Linked DNA regions of Homo sapiens: all the other regions are linked to region 4. Evidence: promoter capture Hi-C in 16 types of primary human blood cells and fetal thymus (Javierre and others, 2016). All regions are on one chromosome and are shown on one strand. The core of a region is centred on a gene start or on the middle of the fragment in contact, and the rest is flanking DNA. Distances in the headings are between cores, read along the strand shown. Region 1 has its middle 5.3 kb from the start of LEO1. Region 2 holds the start of MAPK6 (mitogen-activated protein kinase 6). Region 3 overlaps TMOD3 (tropomodulin 3). Region 4 holds the start of ATOSA (atos homolog A). Region 5 has its middle 4.6 kb from the start of TMOD3. Region 6 overlaps LYSMD2 (LysM domain containing 2). Region 7 overlaps MAPK6 (mitogen-activated protein kinase 6).

Region 1 (3,760 bases), core at 860-3,359, 700 kb after region 4:
CTATGTTGCCCAGGCTGGTCTTGAACTCCTGGACTCAAACGATCTGCCCACCTTGGCCTCCCAAAGTGTTGGGGTTATCGGTGTGAACCACCATGCTTGGCCCCTTCAAATTCTTGACATGTAAAATGGGAGGAATGTAATGTAATCTATGTTATAGGGTTGTTGTGAAAATGGAATAAGTTAGTTCTAGTCCACAATCCCTTTTTCAAAATTCTGAAATCCAAAAATCTCTGAAATTGTTTTCTTTTAAAAGTTTTTTTCTTGTTTTGTTTTTTTAATGGGGTTATAAGGTAATCCCCCCAAAAAATCTCTGAAATTGAGCGTACTTTCATAACTCATTTTGGTGGCAAATGCTGACCCAAACTGATCTAAACCTATTTAAACTTTATCACTCTTAGTTTGAATTTTCATACATTTTACTATAGAAATTTAATTTTGATTATAGGATGCTGGTCAGCCCCTGCTGGGTGTGGTAATAGAGTTTAGATACCGTATTACCTTTTTGAAATCTGGGCATGGTGGCTCACGCCTGGAATCCCAGCATACTGGGAGGCCAAGGCCGGTGGATCACCTGAGGTCAGGAGTTTGAGACCAGCCTGGCCAACATCCCAAAACCCTGTCTCTACTAAAAATACAAAAAATTAGCTGGGTATGGTGGTGTGTGCCTCTAAGCCCAGCTAGTCGGGAGGCTGAGGCAGGAGAATCACTTGAACCCAGGAGACGGAGGCTGCAGTGAGCTGAGATTACACCACTGTACTCCAGCTTGGGCGACAGAGCAGGACTCTGTTACAAAAAAAAAAAAATTAAACTGTCATCAGTAATTCCTTTTGCTTCTTTCCATTGTTGGTTTTCCTATCTCAACAGCTTTTCTCTTCCTTGGTTTAGTGGACCACCTCATTTTGGTGGACAATTCATAGACTGTAAAATATTTGAGCAACCTTACCAGTTGCTAAGGCTGCATAACAAAATACCTCAAAACTTAGTGTACTATGCCACAGCACCCATTTATGGTCTCCTGGTTACTCTGAGACAATTGAGGAAAGGCTCAGCTGGGCACTTGTGGCCTGGGCTCCTTCACTGAGGTGGCATCCAAATGGTGGCTGGGGCCAGGTATGGTGTCTTGTTCCTATAATCCCAGTACTTTAGGAGGCCAAGGTGGGAGGATCGCTTGAGGCCAGGAGTTCGAAGTCATTCTGAGCAACATAGTGAGACCCTGTCTCTACAAAAAAATAAAAAGTTAGCCAGGTACAGTGGCACATGCCTGTAATCCCGGCTACTCAGGAGGCCGAGGTGGGAGGATCAGTTGAGCCCAGGAGTTCAAGGCTGCAGTGAGCTGTAATCACACCACTTGACCTCCAGCCTGGGTGACAGAGGGAGACTTTGTCTCAAACAAAACAAAACAACAACAACAAAATAAATGGAGGCTGGAGTAGGAACTGTAGGAGGGCGATAACAGATGGGGGTTGGCCTGGCATCTCTCTTCATTTGGTCTCCCTGTGTGGCCTCCTTTGGGCTTTTTCACAGCATGGAGCCTCAGGGTAGTTGCACTGCATACATAGAGGCTAGTTTCCTTCGGATACCATTACTCTTTCCTTTATTTAATGATAGTTTGGTGAGTACAGAATTCTAAGATGGATCGGCCGGGCGCAGTGGCTCACGTCTGTAATCCTAGCACTTAGTGAGGCCAAGGTGGATGGATTGCCTGAGCTCAGGAGCTCGAGACCAGCCTGGACAATATGGTGAAATCCCGTCTCTACCAAAATACAAAAAATTAGCCGGGCGTGGTGGTGTGCACCTGTAATCCCAGCTACTCGGGAGGCTGAGGCAGGAGAATTGTAGAACCTGGGAGGCAGAGGTTGCAGTGAGCCAAGATCGTACCACTGCACTCCAGCCTGGGCAACAGAGAGAGACTCCATCCCCCTTCCCCCAAAAATAATAATAATAATTCTAGGATGGATAATTTTCCTTCAGAATTTTATTTTATTAATTTATTTTTTTGAGACAGAGTCTTGCTCTATCTCCCAGGCTGGAGAGCAGTGGCTTAATCTAGGCTCCTGCATCCTCCGCCTCCCGGGTTGAAGCGATTCTCCTGCTTCAGCTTCCTGAGTAGCTGAGATTACAGGAGTGCGACCGCCAAGCCCGGCTAATTTTTGTATTTTTAGTAGAGATGGGGTTTCACCATTTTGGTCAGGCTGGTCTTGAACTCCTGACTTCATGATCCGCCTGCCTCGGCCTCCCAACGTGCTGAGATTATAGGTGTGAGCCACCACACCCGGCCTCCTTCAGGATTTTAAAGACAATTCCACATAGTTCTAACTCTCAGAATTGTTTAGAAATCTGACAACATTTTAATTCCAGATTCTTCATATGCCAGCAGATTTTTCTCTCTAGAAACTTTTAGAATTTTTTTTTTAATCCCCAGTGTTCTGAAATTTTATAGTGAATCAGGGAATGAATTTGATAAGCTGGTCAATGTTCTTGTTTGAGTTTTACGTTCTGCTCAATTTTATGTCTCAATAACTGCGTTCCCTCTGGTCACTTCATTAATATAGTTTGAATCTTCCTAAGAAACCTTTCCTGACTAACCCCCATCTTCACTGATCATTTTCTGGCTTTCAATTTTTAGTACCTCTACATAGTTTATAATTAACTTCTTTTTTTTTTTTTTTTTTTTGAGATGGGAGTCTCGCTTTGTCACCCAGGCTGGAGTGCAGTGGCACGATCTCAGCTCACTGCAACCTCTGCCTCCCGGGTTCAAGCGATTCTTCTGCCTCAGCCTCCCGAGTAGCTGGGACTACAGGCATGTGCCACCACGCCCGGCAAATTTTTTATATTTTTAGTACAGATGGGGTTTCACCGTGTTAGCCAGGATGGTCTTGCTTTCCTGACCTCGTGATCCGCCCGCCTCGGCCTCCCAAAGTGCTGGGATTACAGGCGTGAGCCACCGTGTCCAGCCCCCCAAACTCTTTTATATGAAGAAATATGTTTGTCATTATTTTTATATCCCTATAGCACCCATTGTGGGACCCTAATTCAGTAATTCAGTAAGGAATCCAGTAAAGGCAGACTGTTAGTGAATATCATGTGTCTTCCAAGAAATCAGCTGAGTATTTACTTACTGCTATAGAGAGAAACTACAAGGTTCCTCTCTTGCTCTCTTTAATTCAGATCAGCCTGTTCCCTTCTAAAGGCCAACTCCTTCCACAAAGTGCTCAGAAAAGCCACATGATCCTCCTGTGGAGTGGCAGTTTACCATAAATGGAGTGAATTTTCAGTGAATATATTCTGTTTAATCAATCTGTTATTTTTCCTCTAAGTCGTTAAGGTGTTACACAAATTTAAAAACATATATTCCTTTTTGTGTGATTTGGTGTAAGTATATATTTTATACTTTTTTTTTTTAGACGGAGTCTTGCTCTGTCTCCAGGCTTGAGTGCAGTGGCGCGATCTTGGCTCACTGCAACCTCCGCCTCCCGGATTCAAGCGATTCTCCTGCCTCAGCCTCCTGAGTAGCTGGGACTACAGGTGCATGCCACCCCACCCAGCTAATTTTTGTATTCTTAGTAGAGACGAGGTTTCACCATGTTGGCCAGGATGGTCTTGATCTCTTGACCTCGTGATCCACCTGCCTTGGCCTCCCAAAGTGCTGGGATTACAGGCGTGAGCCACCGCGCCCGGCCTGTTGAGTATTTTTTTGATTACCTTGTAAAAATGTTTGTGATGATACATTAATTGTATTGTGTTATGTACTCAACCTCAT
Region 2 (3,847 bases), core at 905-3,404, 660 kb after region 4:
AAAAAAAAAAAGCCACGTAGCAGTCCGTGGGCAGCATGAGTCATCATCCAACTCAAAACTTGCAGCAGCACTTGTAAGCTTCCTCCTACCCGACCCCCATCCCCTTCAGCAAAGTACCCTGAGTCAGCAAACCTTACTATTTTGTCAGTTATGATTCTCACGATGCTTTAAATGAATTTATGTAAAGCACTGCAACACTTTTAGTGCTAACATTAGTCTTTAGAATGTGTGCATTTTTTTATTACAAAATTAACTGACTTCAAATCACTCTTCTCTGGATTTTTTAATAACAGAAAGTAGCCAACGACTACTTCTAATCCTCTTTTGCAAATAAATGAATTCCAGAATATCCTCATATACGAAGTTTTTTCTAAAATAGTCTCCATTTTCCAGTGTTTTCTTCTCAACAGTAATACCTAGGTGATCAAATATGTTCTGCTCAAATCTGGCATATTTTCTAGATTAACTGCAATTACTGAATTCAGGACATCAATGAATAATTTTACAAGCTTAAGGCAATTCTTAATAAATGATGTAACATATGTGAAATGACTTTACAATCCCTGGCACATAGCAAACACTTCATAAACATGTTTGAACAACTACTATCTAAAGACAAAGTTCCTTTCACCCAATTCAAAATTATTTTTTAAACATTAAAATCTGATATTTCTATGAAGAAATTCCTGATTTCAGGGCCAGGCCCTGTTTGGACCCTACATTCTTCTGGTCAGATCATTCTTTCCATCTCAGTTTTCCAGCGTTAAAGAGGGAGGACATGTGCAATTGGAACTGTAAGAGACAGGCTAGAAGAATCAGCCATCAGAAAATTACTCTGAAGCTGCTTGCTCTTCATTGTATGGCGTGTTAATTTTTCCCCTTGACAAATCATCTGTATCCGTTAAAAAAAAAAAAGTCATTACTGAGACTGCATCTTTAGCAATGAACACGAATTCTGCCGTTAATACAAGTAGGCTTCTAATTCCAACTCACCAGTCCCTTTCACTGGACCTTTTCCAATGAACAAGCAAAAGAAAAAATAAAACAGGAAAGGAATCAAGAAGCTCCCGCTGCACAGAGATCCCCCTAACACCTAAACCGGTTGGGTCCTACACTCGCCAAGAAACAAAAGGATGCCAAAACACCTTTACTTTTCGACACAACTCACAAGGCGGACTAAAATGCACAGCAAAGTGACAAGGCCCTTTTTGGTGAACCGACAAAACAAGCTTTCATTTGGGCACTTTTACAGACCACCACTTAAGGTCCCGAAAGAAGCTAAGGAAAGACTGTAGGGCCGAGGGAGGAAATTAGGAATTTCGTCTCCGAGTTTTCAGTACCTCATTCATGGCAAGACTCAAAACTTGGGCGGACTTCAGGGCTCTGAGACGAGCCGGGTGAGCGCTGCGCGCTACGCCACTGGAGACTTTGCCCGGCCGGAGTCAGCTGAGGCCGAGTCACCGGGTGGGATGGGGGAGGAGACGCGGGAGCATTTCGAAAGGCAGCGTGCCAGTAAGGCGAGACTCCACGCCACCTCATGTTCCCCGGGCCGCCGCCCCTCGCTCGCCCGCCCTCCGGTCCGGTCCGGCTGGGTTTCGAACCCGCGGAGCCAGGCGCAGGCGGCGGGACGGCAGCAGGCGTGCGGGGCCAGGGAGCGGGCGCGGCCTGGCAGGGCGACCGGCGAGGGGCGTGCCGGGTGGGAGGGGCGCGCTGGCCGCCTGGCCGGCCCCACGCGGGGACCCCAGCCCGCCGCCCGCCCGCCCGCGCGGGGACGCGCCGGCCAGGCCCGAGCGGGCGGGCAGGCGGGCGAGCAGGGGGCGGGCGGCAGACCGAACAAAAACGCCTTTGTTGAGCGGCAGCCGCCGGAGGGTCACACACAATGGAGGAGGGAGCCGGCTCCGCCGTCGCCGCCGCCGCCGCCGCCGCCGGGCCCGCCGCGGCGCCCTCCCGAGCCGCCCCGCCGGCGCACCCCGCACACGTACACACACACACTCACGGGACTTCTCCGACTCATCGAGAGAGTGCGGGGCTCGCGGACTGCCCCCAGTGTCGGCTCAGGTCTCCGGCTGTGCTGGCGGCAGCGGCGTCTCCGAGGCTCTCGCTTTGCCGCAGTCGCCGCCATGTAACCCCGACCCGCGAGAGAGGGCGAGGAAGAGGGGGCGGGGCTTCGCGGTGCCACGCCCCCTCACGTCACAGGCTCACTCCACGGGTTCTCCCGCCCCCGCCCTGCCCAGCGCACCCGCACGCGCCGGAATTTCCAGCGCCCGTGACTGGGCTGCGCGCGCCGCGGAGGCGGTGGGAAAGGCACGCGGCTCGTCCGGCGTCTCCTGGGGGCTTTGCCTGCGGGCGGGCAGGGAGGAAGACAGCTGGGGCCGTTTGCTCTACTACCTGCCCTGGCATTAAGGGAACAAAGTGACCAAACCCAGTGCCAGCGTTTACTAAGCACCTACTACGTGCAAGGCACTGGGCAATCCGAGAGGAAGAGGCCTCAGTCTCCAGGAAGGGTGGACCTTAAGATGGATTGGCTGGAAGGCGACAGCCCGAGCACAAGACAGACGCGTTAGAGGCCAATACTAAGGTCATTCATTCTGCCAGAGTATGGAGGAAGGCTTTCAGGAGTGGTCGCCAAGGTGGCCTTTCAGCTGGATCCCGGAGGAGCGGATATAACCAGGAGGTGGGGAGGGTGTTTCTGTGAGCAAAGACTGGGAGGCCAGAGTACCTGGCTTGTTGCAGGAACTGGGATAGGACAATTTGAATTTGGGAAGGGATGCACTATGAAACGTAGAAAGGTGGATGGGTGCCTTCTTGGGCCCACTTGGCTAAAAGCAAACTTACATTACTTATCATGGCTTATTGAGTCCAAGGAGCCTTTTCAGTGTTTATGTGAAATTTAAGTATTTATGAAATTAGAGACGCAGGTCAGCATATTTTTTCAATGACTTCATCACCATCTTGCTGAGAACCAGACATAGAATAGCCCTTCTAGTCATTATTATGGGCATCTTCAAGAAAGAGGCAAAGACCACTTCAAAAAGATCACAAAGGGCCAGGCGTGGTGGTTCACGCCTGTAATCCTAGCACTTTGGGAGGCCGAGACGGGCAGATCACCTGAGGCCAGGAGTTCGAGACCAGCATGGCCAACATGGTGAAAGCCCCGTCTCCACTAAAAATACAAAAAGTAGCCGGGTGTGGTGGCTCACACCTGTAATCCCAGCTACTCGGGAGGCTGAGGCAGGAGAATAGCTTGAACCCCGCGGGGGGTTGCAGTGAGCCGAGATCGCGCCAGGACACTCCAGCCTGGGCGAAAGGGCGAAACTCTGTCTCAAAAAAAAAAATCACAGAGTAATGAAGTTAAGTGGTTGGGGTGAGCTTGAATGCTTTATATTTTTTAATATTTAAAACAACGTCAGCTGAGTACCAGGTGTGAAGAAGAGGTAATGAGTGAAAAAAACCAAGAGAAAGGGGAGACTTGTTCCAACCGCAGAATTTCCAGCTTCTGCAACGAGAGCTCGTACCTTCAGCCCCACTGCCTCTGCTCTAGGCTCTCCTCTGATCCTCAGGACATTTTTCCTCTCACTCTTTGAGAACTCGTTTACCTTCCTTTTCCATCAATGTCTGATCACCCAGAGAAGGTGGGAGAATAAATACCAAGCACTGTGCCTTCCCTCAAGGAGCATTTAATCCAGTGTCACTGCTGACTTCCTGTGGATAATGCAAAGTTGGCTTACAATAGTAAGGGAGACCACTAAATTGACAGAATCTTTGTAGCATTTCAAAAGGGTGTCAGGCCTCTGAGCCCAAGCTAAGCCATCGTATCCCCAGTGACCTGCACATATACATCCAGATG
Region 3 (3,827 bases), core at 1,176-3,675, 830 kb after region 4:
CCTGCCTCTTGGAACCAGATCCCATCCCTGCTCATTTATACAAGGGTTCCAGTATACATTTATACAAGAGCACAATTATCCAGTAATTGTGCTCTTTTTCTACTGGACCATGCCCATTAGCACACAGACTGTAATACATACCTCAAATAAAAAACATATAAACTCTCCTTCTACTTCACATCCCTCTCCAGACACTACCCTACTTCTTGGCTCCACTTTACAGCCAAACTTAAAAGAATTGTCTATATTTGGTAACCCGAGTCCTCTCCCTCTTATTGTCTCAAATATTCTCCCATCTGGCTTTCATCCCCACCACTCACTCCACCCAAACTGATCTTGCCAGCACAGTGCTAAATCCAACTGTCAATTTTCAGTCCTCATCTTTTTTTTTTTTTTTATTGAGACAGAGTCTCGTTCTGTCACCCAGGCTGACATGCAGTGGTGTGATCTCGGCTGACTGCAACCTCCACCTCCTGAGTTCAAGCAATTTTCCTTCTTCAGCCTCCCGAGTAGCTGGGATTACAGGTGTGAGCCACCATGCCTGGCTAATTTTTTTTGTATTTTTGGAAGAGATGAGGTTTCACCATGTTGGCCAGGCTGGCCTTGAACTCCTGACCTCAGGTGATCCACCTGCCTTGGCCTCCCAAAGTGCTGGGATTACAGGCAGGAGCCACCTTAGTCCACATCTTAAGAGACCTATTAGACACAGTGTCTGGCCATAAAACACTTTCCTCACTTGGCTTTGGGGACATCATTTTTTCTTGGTCCTTCCTCCCTGACTGCCCCATCTCATTCTCCTCTGCTGGTTCCTCCTCATCTTCCTCATCTTCAAATGTTGGAGTGCCCCCAGTACTTAGTTCCTTGGACAGCTTCTCTTTCTATACTCACTGCCTTGGTGATTTCATACACTGATAACTTTTAAATTGATATCTCCAATCTGGACCTCTCTCCTGAATTCCATACTTGCAAATAACTATCCATGTAAAATCTCCACTTGGATGGCTAACAGGTTTCTCAAATGTAAACATACAAAACAGACTCCTAATTTTCTCCCCCATACCTGCTCTTGCCATGTTTTTCCCATGTAATAAACAGCAACACCATTCTTTAGTCTCTCAGGCCAAAAATCTTGGAGTCAACTTTGATTTCTCTCGCACTCCACACATGATCCACCCAGCAAATCTTGCTGGTTTTACCTTTAAAAGTCATCTCTTTACCATCTCCACTGCTTCCTTCCACTCTGGTCCAAGCCATTATCTCCTCTTATCTGGGCTATTGCAATAGCTTCCCAACTTCCGAAAGAAGCTGATCGGGAACATACTCCAATAAACACTCCTCTGAGTGCCAGCCAATCATAGTCATACTTCTACAGATTATGTTAACCCACTACAGCCTCAGAAAGTTTGCCAATCCCTGAATTCCACAATTCCCCAAAATTAGAAATTGGCCTGCTCTTCTTAGAGAAACTGTGTCTAGCCAGCATTGCTCTCCCTTATTACAGTAAGCATTAAATTCAGCTTTGCCTTTGTTTCAGATATTGACTGGCAGTCATATCCTTTCATGCTGAAGAAAACTTCTGGTGATTATATATGTTTACTTTTAAATAAAACTATTTCAGTGTTGACACATATTAATAGTAGTTAGGATCAAAATATTCCCTTTGGATGAATATCCATGTAAACTTTTGAAGTAGATACGGTTCACTAGCCAACAATTTCCCAAGTATCTGCTTCAATTTACTTCAATTAAAAAAATTCAAATTGACATTCCCTTTTCTGTTTGGCATGGTTCAAAATTAATCTGGAAATAATGTAACAATAAGTTATCTCCGGCTGGAGATTTTAACATTCAAAACATCAAAATACTCTTCTATTTAATGTTAAGGTTGAGTTTCATCTCTGCTGGTTTGAAGAACATTCTCTTTGATGGAGAAGGCTAAGGTAAAGACAGTCATCTATGTATTCTTGGGATTGTTGAGGCTGAGTATGAATATCTGTCAGGGACAATGTGGCAGATTCCTCAAAGGCAAGGGAGTTTCAAGACTCTCATAAGGTCATTTCCTTTTTATAAGCTTATAATTCTAAATAACACTAATTATAAACAAAGAATATATTCAGTGTCTGTCTTAGCCCATTTAGGCTGCTATAACAAAATACCATAAACTAGGTAGCTTGTAAACCACAGCAATTTATTTCTCACAATTTCCAGAGGCTGAGAAGTCCAATAAGACACCAGCAGATTCAGAGTCAGGTGCGAGCCCACTTTCTGATTCACAGATGGAGCTGTGTCCTGAAATGATAGAAATGCAAGGCAGCTCTCTAGGGCCTCTTTTATAATGGCATGAATCCTACTCATGAAGGCTCTATCCTCACGACCTACTCACCTCTCAAAGGCCCCACCTCCTAATACCATCATATTGGTGATTAGGTTTCAGCATATGAATTTTAGGAAGGTACAGACATTCAAACCGTAGCAATACCCACCACGCTCAAAGCACTGTATTGGCACACATATTTACCTTCTAAAAAATGCCCATTTTATTTTAGTTGTATATAACGTATATTACTTTGATAGCAAATGGAGGAGGATAGAGATGGGGTCTTGCTTTGCCCAGACTGGTCTCTTGGCTTCAAGTGATCCTCCTGCTTCAGACCCTCAAAGTGCTGGAATTATAAACGTGAGCCACCATGCCTGTCTAAGACTTTTTTAAAGGAAATATACTGGATGCTAAATTTATCCTTTTGTTTGGTTCACTGATTCTTCTATATAATGAAGCTTAAAAGACAGTATTTTAATAATTTTTGTGGCGTTTTGGGGATGCTACGGTTTGTTGACTCAGATATTAGCACAGCTCAGTGAGATAGCTGCTTTGCACACAGTAGTTGAAAAAATAGTGGTTGATTATTCTGTGTAAAAGTCCCATGGAAACTAATCAACCTAAGTAGCCCTGTCTTTCCTGCCATTGCTACCAATGCCATCTTGCATTTTAAAAAATGAAATTTATAGATTGCAGAGAAAATAGTTTGAAATCTGAAGGCAGTGCAGAAAAACTTGTTAGGGCTAGAATAAAGAAGAGATGTAATTAGAAGCAGATCACGGAGGACTACCTTAAAGTAGAAAGTAGCCAGATTAGTTCTGTGATTATTACAAGAAAATACTTGACAGGTTATTCATACCACTTCAAAAACAATCTTTCAACAAGACCCTGCTGAGAGACTTCGTGGCTCTCTTGTAGGTGCCCCACTTCCTTTTCTGACGAATAGTAGCAAACCAGCTCCCAGTTCTGTCCCACCTCCCCTTTTTCTTCTTCTTAGTGGAGCTGCAGCATCAGAGACACAGGGCAAGGTCAAAGAGGAACCCACTCTGTGCATACCAAAGATGGATGCCAAAATAGCCACACCCTTAGCATACCCAGTTTCTCAGCACCAAATGTTTTTCAGTTTTTAATTTTTTGGTTTGTTTGTTTAATAGACTGGGTAGACTGGGAAATGTTTTTTCCCAGTTGTTGCAAACTCAAAATATCTTTAAAAAAAAGAAATGACATCATACGAACAAGTCTCTGATGGTAATAAGGTTACAGAGTTCTTTATCTCTGCTGGTTAACTGAAAAAGAGACTTCTACCAGTCCTACTGTGAACAAAACCAAATATGATATGAAGTGGCTTACAGGGAAAGATTTATCAATGCTCAGCCATCAATCAAAATGCTGAATCCATGCCAAGTGCATAATGGTGAGATTAATCTGAGAGTTTTCTTTCTCTCCCCCAAAGGGAAGTATCACCATGACTCATTTTTCCTCTTGCAAGAATTTTCTTAATCCACCAAGT
Region 4 (3,881 bases), core at 134-2,633:
AAAGAACTGTTTCCATTTGTCAGTTTCATCGTCATGATGCCAGAACATTTCAGAGAAAATGAAATGTTACCCTCCTGAATGTTCTCTCCGCTCTGATTAGATACAATCGTGGAGTTAAGGTTAACAATTTCAGTTGTACATGTTATTTTACTGTACATATCTAAGCACTAGAAAATGTTACTTTTTAAATATTTCATGCCTTTTTCATAAGAACTTTACCTGAGGCCAAAAAAATGGAACTGCCAATCTTGCAGTTTATAAAACTCTTCTGATGTGAAAATAATAGACTCATTGTAAAAAAAATTTTAAAACAGAAGGGCACAAATAAAAAAAATCCCCTTAGACTTGTCCTAATACTTTCCTGTGATCCTTTTATGCAAAATTATATCTAAAAAAAAAACTTTTTCTAATGAAACCAAAGAGCCTTGCAAATTTTTACTTGTCTCCATTTGGGCTCATGCCCCATATGTACTTTGTCTATAGACTGAGTAGCTAATAGCTGCAGCGCTTGTTAGGATTGGGTTTTTTTTTAAGTACAGCAGATTCCTGTCATCTGTTTGTGTTTAAATGACGACAACATCACAACATGAAATGCCATCATGTCACATTGCTATAGCACAACAACAAAATTACAGCTCCCCAACAATAACATGCTGTCAAAGTGTCCTCCTGCCCATGAGTCAGTGTTTTAGAAGTTATGAAGATTATTTTTAGCACAGCGAGTGTCTTGGAAGCTTGGGTTCTGAATCCTACTAAAATCCTTAGTGATTTGGGAAAATCTAGGGTGGGGGTGGGCTTCCTGTTCTTAAATTCTCCCACTCCCTGACCCGCATAGCTGCCCACCCCCCGTCCCGGTCACATTAAACCCGGGTTCCATTATGCGCTGCAATCCACTTGGGGCTCGATCACAACTCTGTGCCAGCATCCCGGGAGGAGGAGGAGGAGGAGGAGGAGGGGGGGAAGGAGGGGGAGGGGGGAGGAGGAGGAGGAGGAGGAGGAGGAGGAGGAGGAGGAGACGACGACTATAATTATCCTCCACGTCTGGGGCAGGCCTTTGGATGACATCTCCCCAGTTACCCTGCGCTCTAATAGCGCAGCTCCGATTCCTGGTCTCAGAATCCAGGCGCGCCTCTGCCGGCTGGGAGCGCAACCGAAGTGCCTGGGACGTCTCGGGCTTCCGGGACTCTGCTGGTGTCTCCCAGCCGCCATCTCCAGCGCCCTCGCACCCGCCGGGCACCTGCACCGAAAACCCGGCCCCAAACTAGCGCCCCGGGGCGAGCGGCGGCATTGCCATAGTAACCGGGCGCCAGGGCCGCGGAGGCCGCCGGGGAGGAAGTGACGACCGGGGTGGGTTGGCTGTTGTTGGGACACGTGACCTAGGCAGTGTTTTGACAGGGCAAACAGCAGAGAAAGAACTGGCCGAGCGAGGGGGACGGGGAGCCGGGGCGCCAGAGCTAGAGACAGCGGGCGGGCAAGGAGCTGGCAGAGGCGCTGGGCAAGAGGGCCGGCCGGGGCTACGGGCGGGGGAAGCCCGGGGGTCGCGGGGCTCGGGTGCCAGTCAGGCAGGGCGGAGGGGCTGAGCGCAGGGAGCGGAGCGAGGCGGTGGCTGAGGCGCGGGTGGATGGCCACAGGGGCGCCGGGGAGCCGCTTCGGGCTGGTCGTCTCGGGTCCCCACGGTCACCTGAGGCAGCCGCGGGGGCCGCTGCGCTCCATACTCCGCTCCCGCTGGCCCTGCGCCTCTCGGAGCCTGGGGTCTGAGGTGGGAGTGTGATGTGAGCTGCTGGGCGAGCGGTGGAGAGAAGTGCCAAGAGGAGGCGGGATTGGGACGGGAGAGGAGAGCGAGTTAGTCAGCAGAGGTCGGCCGAGGGAGCGGAGGAGCCGGCCAGCTCGAGAGCGCCATGAAAACAACTCTCCAGCGGGGAGAGGGGCAGACGCGGCGCTCGGTGCGGCGGGGCTGAAGGAAATCCGGGGCCGCGGCGGGACGGAAGGGGTTGTGCAGAGCAGGGGGCGAGCACAGGCTGTAAACACCTCCCCCGGAGCCGGCCGCGGAGGACTGGTTGGGAGTTGGTAGGGTCGCCCCGGGACAGCCCGGAAGAGTTCGTTTGGGGCTGGGGGCTGGGCGGGAGGAGGTGACTCGGGTTTCTGTGTAAACTTGGCCGCGGTTGCCGCAGGAAGGCTAGCCAGAGGGTAATTACACAGGTGAGGCCCGGCGGGGCGGGCGGAGGGCTCGGGAGGCGCAGGGGACTGGAAGAGTTGGCTGCGCCCAGGCACCAGGTGGAAGAATTTCCATACCAGCCCTGCGGAGGTGCCTCTGTTTCCAGAGGCGTTTTTGTACGAAGGGGTTAGTTTGTGTTGCTCAAATCTTTTTCTTCTTCTTGCCTGTACCTCCAGGTTATAAATAGATCCTGTTTTGGTTCAGAGACTGTGTCAGAAGGACACATTGGCCTGGAGAGCACAGAGGCAGGGAAGGGGGTGCTCGATCCGGAGGAGATGGGGGAGGCGGTGCAGAGAGTTTTGCTTTTTTCAGACCAGCCGAGGGTGCTGTCACCGCAGTTGGTGCCAGGAAGAGGCCTAACTTAACAGTAGTTTACTTGCAAGGTCCGGGTATTAGAATAGGGCCAGATTAATTTTATTTTTGTCTCTTTCAGCATTTTGAAAGCGAAGCAGAAGCCGTAGAATCAGCGGCGAGCCTGTTGAAAGAACCCACAGGTGCATTTCACAGCACTCTGGGCGAAAATTGGATGTGAAAATGAAGCCAGACCGAGGTAAATGATTTGTTTAAGTAGGGCTTGTTCCCCCACCCCCTTCTTTTCTATGCCTCAATTTAGAAGTGTTAACCTAATTCTGCAGTAGGATCAACTATTTCTGTATCATATGTGATTATCTGTTTTTGTGACAGATTCCAGCTGGTGAGGTAGAGAAAGGCATATGGAAGAGAAGGTTAAGCGTTTTTACAAAAGTGCTTCTGAAGCACTAGCTTCAAGAGAGATTCTAGTGTATCTCAAAATGAAAGTAAAGAATGGTATTTGTATCTGTTGCCACAATACAGGTATCATTTTAGAGTTGTACTTGCTCGTTTTTAGGTAGTCAATCTAACTTCAACTTTCAAGAAGTTCATAAGCTTTTTAAACTTGAATGTGAACTTGATAAAATGAAGAGAAAACTTAAGCTTGAGTTGACAACTGTTATTTTATTACTACTTTGATTAGTTGATTTTTGTGCTTTAAGCAAACTCCAAAAGTTTGCAGAGTACTCCAGTATTCAATATACCAGCATATGGACAGTTTGGGCCACTGAAATCCCTGGTGATAAGTAAATGTCACTTCTTTTCTAAACCTGTATTTTCAGGATTTATAAGAATAATATATACACTGCTTTTCAAGGACTTCAAGGTAATTCTTTATCAGTCTTCTGATTAATGGCAAGAACCAATTTTAGAAGATGTTAATATAGTAGTGGTTAGTAGTGAGAGCTTTTCAGTCAGATATGAGTTTGATTCCAAGGAACATTGTGAAGTGGGGATTATTTTATTTGGTAGGGGGCTGGACTAGATGACAGATTTCCTTCCAAATCCAAGTCTTTAGGATTGGAAATGTTAATTTATCCTACGAATTAGATGCTTATTTTAAAATTTATATATATTAAACTGGTTGTTTTTCCATATATTTTTTCAAAGTGATTAGACAAATTTTCTGGGTAAAATAGGTCTATTGAAATGCACCAGAAGGAATTGGAGAAAACCATACTTAATTTAGTGATTTAAATTAGTTTTAGGTGTTGGCTATTACATACAATCAGGCAGCAGCTATGTATGTATCAAGTATTAGTAAGTGTATTGCTCCTGAGCAGGTTCCTTGTGTAGAATGCCAAGTTTAGATTTT
Region 5 (3,880 bases), core at 342-2,841, 850 kb after region 4:
CCCACCCCACCACACCCAGCTAATTTTTGTATTTTTTTAGTAGAGACGGGGTTTCGCCATGTTGACTAGGCTGGTCTTGAACTCCTGACCTCAGGTGATCTGCCCACTTTGGTCTCCCAAAGTGCTGGGATTACACGCGTGAGCTACCACTCCCAGCCCAGAATGATCTTTTAAAAACAAATCAGATCATATCACCATCTTGCTCCAAACCGTTCATGGCTTCCATCACATTTAGAATAAAATCCATAATTAACACCTCTACAAATCTGTATATGATTGTTTTGTTTCCTACCACATATTCTCTCTGATACTGCTCTAGTCATACTGGCCTCCCTGAGGTTTCTTAATCCTGCCAAGTTTCTCCCCATCTCAGAGTCTTTATGCTGTGCAGGAGAATGATTTTCCTCCCAGATGCTTCTAGCTCATGCCCTCATTTTAATGAAGGTTCTGCTCACATGTTACCTCTGAAAGTCTTCCTCTTACCACCTTACCCTGCCATTCTCTCCTTTCTTTACTTGTCGTCATAGCACTTTTACCACATAGCTTCATATTGCTTGTTTCCTTAGTGGAAGCTCAACAAGCTTTGCTTTGTTTACTCCTCCATCCCTAGCATCTACAATACTGCCTGCACACAGAAAGTATTCAATAAATATTTGTAAATAAATGAATGTTGGGTTCTTCCCTCTCTCTCCTACTCTCCTCTTGGGACACAGACCCAGAAGGTTCACCTGTAAATGCCAGCCAGTGACCTGATTTGGATGTAAACACCAGCTGCAAGAGGGTTGACTACACAGGAGAATAAGATCCTGTGAAAGTCCTGAAATAGAGACAGAGCTCTCTTTTAAAAAGGCTATAATTTAGGGTTGCCACTATTCCCTTAGAGTTGGAAACATAATTCTTGGAGGAAAACAAACAGGAAAAACATGGAAATTAGATTTACATAAATAAGTGAAAAGGTAAGTCCACTAAATACCTGTGGTAGATTGAAATATTGTTCCCACATATTTGCTCTCCTTTAGAGGAATAGACAGGCTTGCCCACTACTATGTGACTTCCAGTGCTGCCCCGCAGGCATTCCAGGCTTGGCTATGATCCCATGATGGGATTTTCCTCCTCTCTTCGGTTAAATGTCATATTGTAATCACAAAGTTTAGAAACATGAATCTTGCTTTGGTCAATAAAATATAAGTGGAAGGGACAATCCGACAGTTCTGGGTGGAAGCTTTAAGAGTCACTGCCTTTCTCTACTAGTGTGCCTGCTCTTTCCCTCCACCAAGAGAGACAAGTTCTGAATAGAGGCTGGTCCTTCTGCCTGGGTTCTAGAATAAGAAATTACATGGATCAGAGCCTCAGCCACTAGCTGACATAATATATAATGTGAGCGAAGGGGAAACTGAGGTTTAGGTTCGTTTGTTACTATAGACTTACTTAGCAAAAGCTGACTACTATAGTGCCTAATCAAAGAAACATGATGATCTGAACTAGAAGTGGTATGGCACCCCCAACCGTCTGCATTTAACCCACTTCAAGTAATGGAAAACTGTTGAAGTTCAACAGGCTAACACACTACAGAGAACAAATCTGAGGCCTTCAGGTAAAATATTTGAACAAGGGACAGAGTATGGTTCCCATTAGTGTTCAGGGTTTGGTTAGAGTGAAAGTGATTGATAAAATGACACTTCAACTCTACTTTATGTGTTAATATTACAAGCTCTAATTAGTGTTATCTCTAAACTTCCAGCCAGAATAACTCAGAAAGCATGTCACACTGAATCATCGTATGCTAATTAATAACAGCAGCACTTTTCTTGTTATCAAAGAGTTCCTTTAGGAAATAGTTACTTTGGTATATGTAAGCATATTTTGTGTGTATGTAAAAACGTGTATTTATAGGAGAGCTGAGAAAAACTAAAGACAAAAATTTGAAATGAAAAGGGAAGGATTTCATTATGGAAGCTTGGAGGTAGGAATCCTATGGAAGCAGTGGGAGGTAGCAATCACAGAAGACAAACATCATGGCTGGGTACATACCGGTTTTTTTTTTTTTTTTTTTTTTGAGATGGAGTCTCTCTCTGTCACCCAGGCTGGAGTGCAGTGGCGTGATCTTGGCTCACTGCAAGCTCCACCTCCCGGGTTCACACCATTCTCCTGCCTCAGCCTCCCAAGTAGCTGGGATTCCAGGTGTGCACAACCATGCCTGGCTAATTTTTGTATTTTTAGTAGAGACGGGGTTTCACCATGTTGGCCAGGCTGGTCTCAAACTCGTGACCTCAGGTGATCTGCCTTCCTTGACCTCCCAAAGTGCTGGGATTACAGGCATGAGCCACCACGCCTGTGTGCATACAGTTTTACAGGAAAGATTCAAGCACACTTTTTGGCCTCAAGTGCCCCTTTTTCTATAACCCATCTCTGCCTGTTAGAAGCCTCCTCATGTTTCATTGTCCATCTCAAATGTCTGTTCCCCACTCAACCTTCACTAATGCCATCAGCTGGAATTAATTTTGCCTTTCCCATATTTTCATACCCCATTATGCCTCCATTAGAAGTGCACTGAATACACATTTCAGCCAAATGCCAAAAGGGCCAAAAAATAAGTCACTCTTCAGCTGAAGCCAAAGTTGATGACAAACATCACTATTAAAGAATAAACTTCTGGGATATGCACATAAACCTAAAATATTATCCCCAAATTTTAATACTATTTTAATAATATTAAAAATGTTAGTGCTAAAACTGTTCAGTTTAACATTTACTATAGAAGCAATAAATTCCCAGTGCTGTCCATTGTTAGACTCTCCTACAGTCACTGCAGAAAGCCAAATTTCAGCTCAGGTGAGTGAATGAATATGATCCCTGTCATAAATGGAATTAAATAAGAATTAAATTCAGGTCTTTAAATGATAAATGCTAGATGCCCCAAACCCTTCTACCAAGACCAGAGTTGTGATATGATTTAACTTCTGCTTACTTTTCCTTGTCTTTATTTATTTTTATTTATTATTATTATTTGTTTTTGAGACAGAGTCTCACTCTGTCGCCCAGGCTGGAGTGCAATGGCACGATCTTGGCTCACTGCAACCTCCACCTCCTGGGTTCAAGCGATTCTCCTGCCTCAGCCTCCTGAGTAGCTGGGACTACAGACGTGCACCACCACACCTGACTTATTTTTGTATTTTTAGTAGAGACAGGGTTTTGCCATGTTGGCCAGGCTGATCTTAAACTCCTGACCTCAAGTGATCCTCCAACCTCGGCCTCCCAAAGTGCTGGGATTACAGGTGTGAGCCACCGCGCCTGGCCTCCTTGTATTATTTGAATTTTTTATAAACATTTATTGGCTTGAAAACAATGTATTGTTTTTTCTAGGTTATCTAGCCAATGGATTCCTTCTTGATATTTGTAGTGATTGTCAGCTTATTTTCCTATTTGCTTAAAAGTCTTAAATAATTGTTTCTTTTTGTCTTTTACTAAATTCTTATTGATACATTATAATTGTACATATGCATGGGAGTACATGTGATATTTTGCTACATGATACAATGTGTAATAATCAAACCAGGGTAATTGGTCATCATCTCAAACATTGATTATTTCTTTGTGTTGAGAACATTTCAAATCTTCCAGCTATTTTGAAATATGCAATACATTATTGACAACTACAGTCACCCTACTGTGCTGTTGAACCACTAAAACTTATTCCAAGTGTATTTTTGTACCCATTAACTAAACTGTCTTCATTTTTATCCTCCTTAAGTTTTTAATTTGTTTGTTTGTTTGTTTGTTTTTAGATGAAATCTCGCTCTGTTGCCCAGGCTGGAGTGCAGTGGTGCGACCTTGGCTCACTGCAACCTCTGCCTCCCGGGTTCAAGTGATTCTCCTGCCT
Region 6 (3,815 bases), core at 960-3,459, 950 kb after region 4:
ACTGGTTATGGTAAGGTCGTTCTGCTGCTGTTTGAAAACCAACTGGAATTCCAAGGACAAGGGGACCTGGGTAATGCCGTTCTTAAAAAGTCAGCCTCCTAGGGTTTAGAATAAGCCCAAGAAGAGTGGAGGAATGGATTGGGAGGGGAGAGTGGGTTTGAAAGGAGAATAAGCAGCACGACAGATAACTTACTACCCATTTCTGATTACTTCATCTTCCATGCCCACTCCTCTGACCTGCGTTAATTCATCCATCCATCCATCCTTCCATCCACCTGTCCATCCATCCTAAGCACTTAGTGTGTATGAGATCTTTGTCAGACCAGGAAGGCTATAGCAATAACCAGTTCTTGCCCTCAAAGAATTAATAGTGTACTCTTGCAGTTCCTAGCTCTGCTCAGCAGTTTGGATCCTGGTCCCATCTGTTTCTGTCTTCCATCATTATTCCCAGGAAGCAATGACTATTAGCAGTCGTAGTCCCCTTCTGATAAGCATTTCAAAGGGCACTGTATCAGCAAGAGCTCTTTCAGCTACAAGTGACAGAAAACCTAACTCAAATTGGCCTAAACAAAAAACAAACTCCAAGTGGAGTTTAGTGGATCTTGGAACTGAGCATGTTCTGTCTTCAGGCTGTGATCCAGAAGTTCAAATGCTCACCTCTAAGGTGACTCCAGTATCAGATTCCACAAGGTGCCAGGATGACTGCCAGCATCTCCAGCCTATCTCCTTCCAGCAGAAAGCAGTAGAGAACTCTCCCCTCGACTACCGTCCTGCAGGAGTCTCTTTGCATGTCTGAATGATTCTGTCATGGGTCTGTGATCTATCACAAAAGCCTGTGATGCTCCCCAGGGCAGGAATGAGTCATATGCTCACTCTGGAGCCAGGGGAGGGCTTAGTGTCATTGGAAGCCTATGCACTAAGAGAGATAGAGCAGCTGGATGCTTGGGGGCAAGATCTAGGGGTCCTAAAGGCGAAATAGCAATAGGTATACCTGAACCTGCTACGGGCAAAGTGTCCAAGTTATTAACCCTTTCAAACCTGAACTAGACCAGAGATACTTGGGGTTTTTAGATTTTAATTTTGTCTCTAAAAGGCACCTGCCCATGTTTATGTTCTCTTTCTCCCCTTAAACTAGAAACGAGAACACAAAAGACCATCCTTTTTAAAAATCTCATTCCTTTAATGGAGTATCTTTAGAAGAAAAAAGAAAGCTTTACATGTACTATTTGCATGGAATCAGCTTATAACAAAGCAGGATGAACAGGGTCCACTTAGTTGACTGTTGTTTTTGCAGGCTTTTTGAAGTAGAAATACAATTTTTTTGTTTTTACTCAGAATTCATTTGGCATTAAAGGCTCCCCATAATGTGATTTCATTAGTTGTGTACTTTAATTCAGATGTTGTACGGACTTCGGAGTCAGACAAAAATCCCATTTTAAACATTTAAAGAGCCATATGTACTTGGTCAAATCTACCATCTCTTTTGTGTTTTGATTTCTTCATCGCAAAGTGGAGAGTAGTAAGTACCATCCACTGCCAGACACTCTAATCACTACTTTCTCTCTCTCTTTCCATATAGATATATATGGGAATATATGTATAGAATGTACATATATTTTTATATATTCTCTCATATATATATATTTCCTTGATGTGAGTGGGTATATAAGCTCTCATTTAATCCTTGCAACAACCCTGTGAAAGGTAGATGGTACCTGTTTTACACATGAGGAGAAAGGATCAATGATATAAGTAACAAGCTCATGTTCATACAGTAACTGTATTTACTAAGTACAGTTCTAGAGACATGGGAAGCACTTCATAAGTAAAACAGCAGCAATGGTAAGTTTAAAAAAAATCAGATAATAGAAATGTTAAAACAAGAATGGAATTTATTAAGTGCTAAAAATTTTACATTTTTAAACTTCAGAGATTTAAGTCCACTGATGTTAAAAGCTGCCTTGTAGTAGAAATAGTATAATGTGGAAAAATTAGTCTGTCCTTTTTAAAAATTGGGAAACAATTCTCCAACATCTCTTGAAATAACTAGAGATATCTGGGGAGGTTACCAAACCTGAATGAAGAGTCTCAAATCCCAAGAAAGCATTGTGTACATTTTGCTTATGAATATTGGTAGTTCTGTATTGTATAATAAATCTTACTCCTTGACTTGGTTATATGTAATTCTGTGTCTCCTTTTTTATATTTTAGATGGAACAGATTAAAAGGGCCAATAAACTGTTTACCAATGATTGTATATTTCTGAAGAAAACTTTGAACATCCCAGTTATATCAGAGAAGCCTTTGTTGTTTAATGGACTTAACTCCATTGATTCTCCAGAAAATGAAACTGCTGATAACAGTTTTTCTCAGGAAGAGGAGCCAGTGGTGGCCGGGGAAGACCTCCCTCCTCCCAGTCCTCAAGAATCTGATGTTCAGCCTGTGCAGCCTGAGGAAGTGTCAGCCAGAGATTTCCTGCAGAGACTTGACTTGCAGATTAAGTTATCAACACAGGCAGCCAAGAAGCTAAAAGAAGAGAGCAGGTAAGAATACCCTGGTACAAATGTCAAAGTCTAAATAAATCACTATTAAGATGTCCTTGCTGGGCCAAATCTTTCTTTTCTCTTTTCTTTGCCTTTTCTTTTCTTTTCTTTCTTTCTGATTTTTTTTCTTTTTTTCTTAATTTCTTTCTTTCTTAATTTCTTCCTTTCTTAATTTCTTTCTTTCTTTCTTTTTTTGCTTTAAAAACTGCATTTTAGTTCTAGAAAGGCATTTTTAGTATATAAACTCTAAACAGAGCTGCTGCCTGATGCACAAGGCTTTATCTGTTGCAGTGTTTTTATCTGTTATTTACTATAAAAAGTTTGCTTCTTTGCTTTAATAGCGTCACTGTCCAGCTAGCACTTCTGGATAGCGGCAAAATAAAAGTGTCTCTCTCACTGACACTTTCAAGAGAAGTAGTGTCATAGAAAATACTTGTAAAATATTGATAGTTGCAAAACTTGTCAAAGACATTGTCTGTTATTTGTTACTGGGTGTTTCCTACATAAGATCTCATGTGAACTTTTTTCTTTGTTTTTTAAATTTGATATTAGGGCAAATCTTTCTCTCTCCTATAGAATTGGTTTCCTTTTTTCTTTATGATTTGATTTCAAAAAAGTACAATCTACTGTGTTTCCTTTTTTGCTCTGGCTATTGGGAAGCTTGCAACTAAAATTGATACCTGTGTTCAACTCCTATAATATTTCTTATGATTAATACATTGGTTTCCTTCTCCTTTCCTTAGTCCTGATTTTTTTATTTCTATTTTATTAATCTTATTGTATATATGCCTTTTGTTGTTAGTACCTTAAATCCTTTTGGGAAAGAGGTAGAATATAGAAAACATAAACAAATATAAATATGAATATAATTTAGTATAGATTTAAAATATATGTAAATATAAGCAAATATAAATACATAAATGAATGACATTATTTATTCTAATAACTGAGATATGAATAAAATGGAGATAGTAAGGTATGTCTTAAGTATTGGCATTTCATACAGTTGTCTAGGCATGCACAATATTCTAAGTTGATATATTCCTTCTTTGGCAAGTGGATATTGTATAATAAGTTGATGTTTTAGTTTTCTGCATACAGTTCTAAACTCTGATTTATGCTGTATTTATTTTCTTTCAGAGATGAAGAAAGTCCCTATGCAACTTCCCTCTATCACAGTTAGGTGATTTGGGGGCATAACTCTAACCAAAATTAAGATATGTTTGGACCATAAAGAATCCAACAACTGAAGATTCAAAAACATCCCTTCTG
Region 7 (4,326 bases), core at 1,235-3,734, 640 kb after region 4:
CCAGAATTTTCTTTTTTTCTTATCAAGGAGCAACTTGGCCTACTTATGTCAAAAAGGAAGTCTAGATGTGCAAAGAAAGTTTGAAGTAAGGGCCATAAACATAAAGGTTACTTTTTCTGGTTTTCTCCTCAACCTTCTGCTCTGCTGCTTCTCAGGATAAATGCTGACATGGGTCATCTGGCCTGTTCACATTCACTGACAGCACAGCACTTCCCCCATCCCCTCTCCACAAAGGCTCTTATTTTGCTCTTCTCCATAGTCAAGTGAGTAATTTGAGTTAACAGGAACCTAGCCAGCCTCACATCTCCTCAGCCAAAACCCAGTTGCTTTTGGACAGAAGGGAAAGGTTGAGCTTTTCTTATATTCACCTAGGGCTATCTCCTAACCCTGGCACAGATAAATGTAGCTGTAGCAAATTCACCCTTCCCTGAGATCATGTCTCAAGCTCTCATCAAAGCTACTAAGATTTTCGGGCAGAGAAGGCCAAGTGCTACAGCTTAGCTGCTTGCTCACTGCATTTTTGACAAAGCCCTTGCTCCTAATGTATGGTGGGCGGCCATAAGAGTTATCAGGGGCCCTTTCAGGATTTGGACATCAAGGAGGCTGGGAGTATAAACTATTAACAACAAATAATCTTAGGAACCTGGGAAAAGACATGGGACCTTAAATCTAAAATGCCAAAGTCTGAAAGGCTTTGGGTAGTATCAGTAACTATGCTTATCTACAGAGACAAACTTTCAAAGTCAGAGAAGACAGTAACAAAGTATCCAATTTAAAGACAAAACAGGCTGGGCGTGGTGGCTCACACTTGTAATCCTAGCACTTTGGGAGTCCAAGGTGGGCAGAACACCTGAGGCCAGGAGTTGGAGACCAGCCTGGCCAACATGGTAAAACCCCTGTCTCTACTAACAATACAAAAACTAGCCAGGTGTCGTGGCTCACACCTGTAATCCCAGCTACTCAGGAGGCTGAGGTTGGAGAATCGCTTGAACCTGGGAGGCGGACGCTGCAGTGAGCTGAGATCACACCACTGCACTCCAGCTTGGGCAACAGAGTGAGACCCTGTCTTCAAAAAAAAAAAAAAAAAAAAAAAGACAAAACACTCACCTACTACTACCAATTTGTGTTCTTAAATTGTTTAAGCCCTTGCCTACATGCATTTTAACATTAGGGGCTTTCATTTGCCTTTGGCCATTTAAAAAGCCATTGTAAAGCACATGCCATTATGTTTATTTTGTTGCTTATCTCTAGTTGTTATTTTCCAGTATGGATGACTTACAGTAAATCTGTAACCAGATTACAACTAGTAAGTCTAGTTACAGCCAGGCGTGGTGGCTCATGCACTTTGGGAGGCCAAGGCGGGTGGATCACCTGCGACCAGCCTGACCAACATGGTCAAACTCCATCTCTACTAAAAATACAAAAATTAGCTTGGCATGGTGGTGCACTGCTGTAATCAGCTACTCAGGAGCTGAGGCAGGAGAATCGCTTGAACCTGGGAGGTGGAGGTTGCAGTGAGCCAAGATCGTGCCACTGCACTTCAGCCTGAGGGACAGAGGGAGACTCCATCTCCTAGTTACAGATTTACTGTAACCCATTCATATTAGAAATTCAAAAATTCATAGACCAGATAAACTAGTAATAACATCCCTATAGACTCTTCCAATTCTAAGTCTATGATTTACAAGTCTTATATTTCTTTAGTTTTATTCCCAAGCCCTGTGGTGGTATGCTCAGAATGGGAGAGATGTTATTCAAATTGCTGTATACTAAACAAATATAATCCCTTCTACAAACTTACGGCTGGAAATTTTTAAATAATTATAATAACGCTTGATCCCATTTCTTATCTTCCTCCCGGCAGGAGGCTTTATTCTAAGATTCCTAACCTAACTAACATTAAAGAAATATTGGAGCAAATATAGGACAGGAGACATGTGCACAGCCTCTTTCTTCAAGCACCTTTGGACACCTGAGGATTCTAACTAGATGAAAATATAAATTTTCAAAGCAGTCAGGATAATAGATGGCCCCCAAAAATCTAAGTCTTGCTCATGCCACAAGTTCAACGTAGCTGTCAGCCAAGCTGCTAAAGTACCCACCATCTCTACCAATTACATGCAATGTAGCAGAGAAAAGTAAGACTATCTCACTGGCAAAAAAGCTTCCATCCAAAAGTGACACCATTCACTTCTCACATTTTACTGACTAAAGTAGGTCACATGGTCATACGTATACCCAAGGGAGTGGGTAAATGCAATCCCAACATGGGCCCAGAAGCAGAATGAACCAAGATGTTTTTAAAACATCTTTTAAACAGACTAAACAGATTCAACCCTCCCATCCATCCATTACGTTTCATTCAACATTTTACTGAATGCTTACCATGTGCCAGGCATTGTTTTAGGCATTAAGCTATAGCAGAGGTCAATTTTTTTTTTTTTTTCAATCTTGAGCTCAAAGGAACACATTATTACTCCTGGAGCACAGGGGCATGTAGTGGATTCCTCCCTATCTAACATTTCACTTTTCTTTCTCCTCTTTCTAATAACATTTTCACTCCCTTTTCTTTTGCCATCCTCCCCCAACCTAATCTAATGTGATTCTTCAGAACCTCTACTCTTCATTTTCCAGGGCACCATTCCCCTCCTTTTTTCTGTGGCTTTGTCTATGATAAAAGGTTTGGGACTAAGTAGCTTTGGGGACATTTCCTAAGCATAGTACCTGGTAATTAGTAGGTACCCTAAAATATGTACTGAATGAATCAATGTAAATAGCATATTCTACGTGAGTAGAAAGCTTTGGAGAAGGGAAGTCCTATCCTCGAATTTTTCAGAATCTGATCACATTCTGATCTACCACTAGAAAACATCAGTGAAGATTCCCAGATATGGTATTTTCCTTTCCAGGCATTCCACCAGGACCCTCACTCTATGCGAATGCACAGGTCTGCCAACAACATGAAGAAGGCAGCTGGTTTCAACCCACTCAGAATGAAGAAATGAAACACTTCAGCTTTGTTACAGCTCTCATCTTATCTTGTTGAGGTGATGGGGAGGGACTGTGCCACTGAAATAGCATCCTATATAATCAGTCAAGCAGGACTCTAAAAAGTCCTATCAGCCCATGTAATACCAAAGAAGGTATAATGAAGATATGCAAGACCTTGACACTATTCTTCAGTCCATCCTAGCAGGGTTTAGCACCACAGCTTTTCAGACTACAGATCAAACGTGACTGCTGTTGTTTTTGAGCTAACTCTGGTGAGGGTCTGAAGAAGGTCACATTATGCAAGGCCATATAAAACATCTCTGGACTCTCAAATGGAGAGAACCATATGCTTACTTGGAGATTCTCTTTAAGAGACAGGGTCTCACTCTGTTGCCTCAAACAATTCTCCCACTAAGCCTCCTGAGTAGCTGGGACTATAGGCACACACCACGTTCAACTTTTTTTTCTTTTTCTTTTTGTAGAAATGGGGTCTCACTATGTTACCCAGGCTGGTCTTGAACTCCCGGCCTCAAGTGATCCTCCCACCTAAGTCTTCCAAAGTGCTGGAATTACAGATCAGCCCCGCATCTGGCCAATTCCCTAATTTTTAAAAACAATTCAGAATGGCATGTTATTTTTTTGGAATATCCTTCCTCTTTATTTCTCATTTTCTCCAAACTGAAGAAGGCTTACAAGATTTGGCTGCCCTGCCTATGGAGTAGCCATTCTTTTATTCCTTTACTTTCTTAATAAACCTGCTTTCACAAAAAAAGGGGAGGGGAGGGGAGAGGAGGGGAGGGAAAGAAAGGAAAGAAAAAGGAAGGAAGGAAAGAAAGGAAGAAAAAAAGAAAGCTTGCGAGATTTAAAAACAAAATTTTAAGTTGGTTTGCTATCAGATCCATACAAGAATTTGGCCCTACTGAAAGAGTCCAGTCTTTCACTAGGCCCGTGCCATGCTTTGAATGTGTCCCCCAAAGTTCATGGGTTGGAAGCTTAATCCTCAATGCAAGTGTTAGGAGGTGGGGCCTAATAAGTGGTGATTATTAATCACTAGTAAGAAGCAGATGGGTTAATGTCATTATTGTGGGAGTGGGCCTATTATAAAAGCAAATTTGGCCCTCTCTTTCTCTTATACCATGGGCTGATGCAGAAAGGAGACCCTCACCAGATGCCGGCACCATGGTATCAGACTGCCAAGCCTCCAGAACTGTAAGAAATAAATTTCTCTTCTTTATAAATTACCCAGTCTCAGGTGTTGTTTTAGCAACATGAAACCAAGAGGGACAGCTTATATTAAAGGAAATAAACCATAAGTTTAAAGATCTGGGGTCTACT

Evidence for each region. Contacts are between HindIII fragments. The CHiCAGO score rates a contact against its expected background, and 5 or more counts as called.
Region 1: a contact is called between a fragment that was not itself captured here and the fragment with the promoter of ATOSA in region 4, in 1 of 17 cell types (fetal thymus). The highest score is 5.1, in fetal thymus.
Region 2: a contact is called between the fragment with the promoter of MAPK6 here and the fragment with the promoter of ATOSA in region 4, in 6 of 17 cell types (fetal thymus, naive CD4 T cells, total CD8 T cells and 3 more). The highest score is 8.8, in fetal thymus.
Region 3: a fragment that was not itself captured here is called in contact with the fragment with the promoter of ATOSA in region 4 in 1 of 17 cell types (activated CD4 T cells); the score reaches 5.4 in activated CD4 T cells.
Region 5: a fragment that was not itself captured here is called in contact with the fragment with the promoter of ATOSA in region 4 in 1 of 17 cell types (activated CD4 T cells); the score reaches 5.8 in activated CD4 T cells.
Region 6: a contact is called between a fragment that was not itself captured here and the fragment with the promoter of ATOSA in region 4, in 1 of 17 cell types (total CD8 T cells). The highest score is 5.1, in total CD8 T cells.
Region 7: a fragment that was not itself captured here is called in contact with the fragment with the promoter of ATOSA in region 4 in 1 of 17 cell types (total CD8 T cells); the score reaches 6.1 in total CD8 T cells.

Annotation. Positions count from the first base shown.
Region 1 is chr15:51,975,181-51,978,940 of GRCh38, reverse strand. It overlaps a transcript of MAPK6 not described here. Among named protein-coding and RNA genes, the nearest start is that of LEO1, 5.3 kb to the right of the region's middle. The HindIII fragment of the contact is 8,624 bases long and covers 1-3,760 here.
Region 2 is chr15:52,017,526-52,021,372 of GRCh38, reverse strand. It overlaps MAPK6 (mitogen-activated protein kinase 6), which reads right to left and starts at 2,154. Exons shown (of 6, transcript NM_002748.4): 1 at 1,997-2,154. It overlaps MAPK6-DT (MAPK6 divergent transcript), which reads left to right and starts at 2,278. Exons shown (of 2, transcript NR_156732.1): 1 at 2,278-2,674. RefSeq lists enhancers at 1,094-1,143, 2,484-2,553 and silencers at 1,394-1,903, 2,204-2,313. The HindIII fragment of the contact is 8,244 bases long and covers 1,232-3,847 here.
Region 3 is chr15:51,846,507-51,850,333 of GRCh38, reverse strand. The region is part of intron 1 of TMOD3 (tropomodulin 3); the gene reads right to left. Among named protein-coding and RNA genes, the nearest start is that of TMOD3, 19 kb to the right of the region's middle. The HindIII fragment of the contact is 704 bases long and covers 2,074-2,777 here.
Region 4 is chr15:52,676,890-52,680,770 of GRCh38, reverse strand. ATOSA (atos homolog A) reads left to right here and starts at 1,383. Exons shown (of 13, transcript NM_001385016.1): 1 at 1,383-1,943; 2 at 2,649-2,765. The coding sequence starts at 2,750. LOC105370821 (a long non-coding RNA gene) reads right to left here and starts at 1,166. Exons shown (of 4, transcript XR_932255.4): 1 at 1,078-1,166. RefSeq lists a silencer at 1,448-1,767 and enhancers at 2,348-2,487, 2,618-2,687. The HindIII fragment of the contact is 2,387 bases long and covers 737-3,123 here.
Region 5 is chr15:51,823,089-51,826,968 of GRCh38, reverse strand. No RefSeq gene overlaps it. Among named protein-coding and RNA genes, the nearest start is that of TMOD3, 4.6 kb to the left of the region's middle. The HindIII fragment of the contact is 734 bases long and covers 1,225-1,958 here.
Region 6 is chr15:51,723,518-51,727,332 of GRCh38, reverse strand. It overlaps LYSMD2 (LysM domain containing 2), which reads left to right. Exons shown (of 3, transcript NM_153374.3): 2 at 2,212-2,543; 3 at 3,684-3,815. The coding sequence ends at 3,726. Among named protein-coding and RNA genes, the nearest start is that of LYSMD2, 12 kb to the left of the region's middle. RefSeq lists a silencer at 861-920. The HindIII fragment of the contact is 1,992 bases long and covers 1,214-3,205 here.
Region 7 is chr15:52,036,277-52,040,602 of GRCh38, reverse strand. All of the region lies in intron 1 of MAPK6 (mitogen-activated protein kinase 6), which reads right to left. Among named protein-coding and RNA genes, the nearest start is that of MAPK6, 19 kb to the right of the region's middle. The HindIII fragment of the contact is 635 bases long and covers 2,167-2,801 here.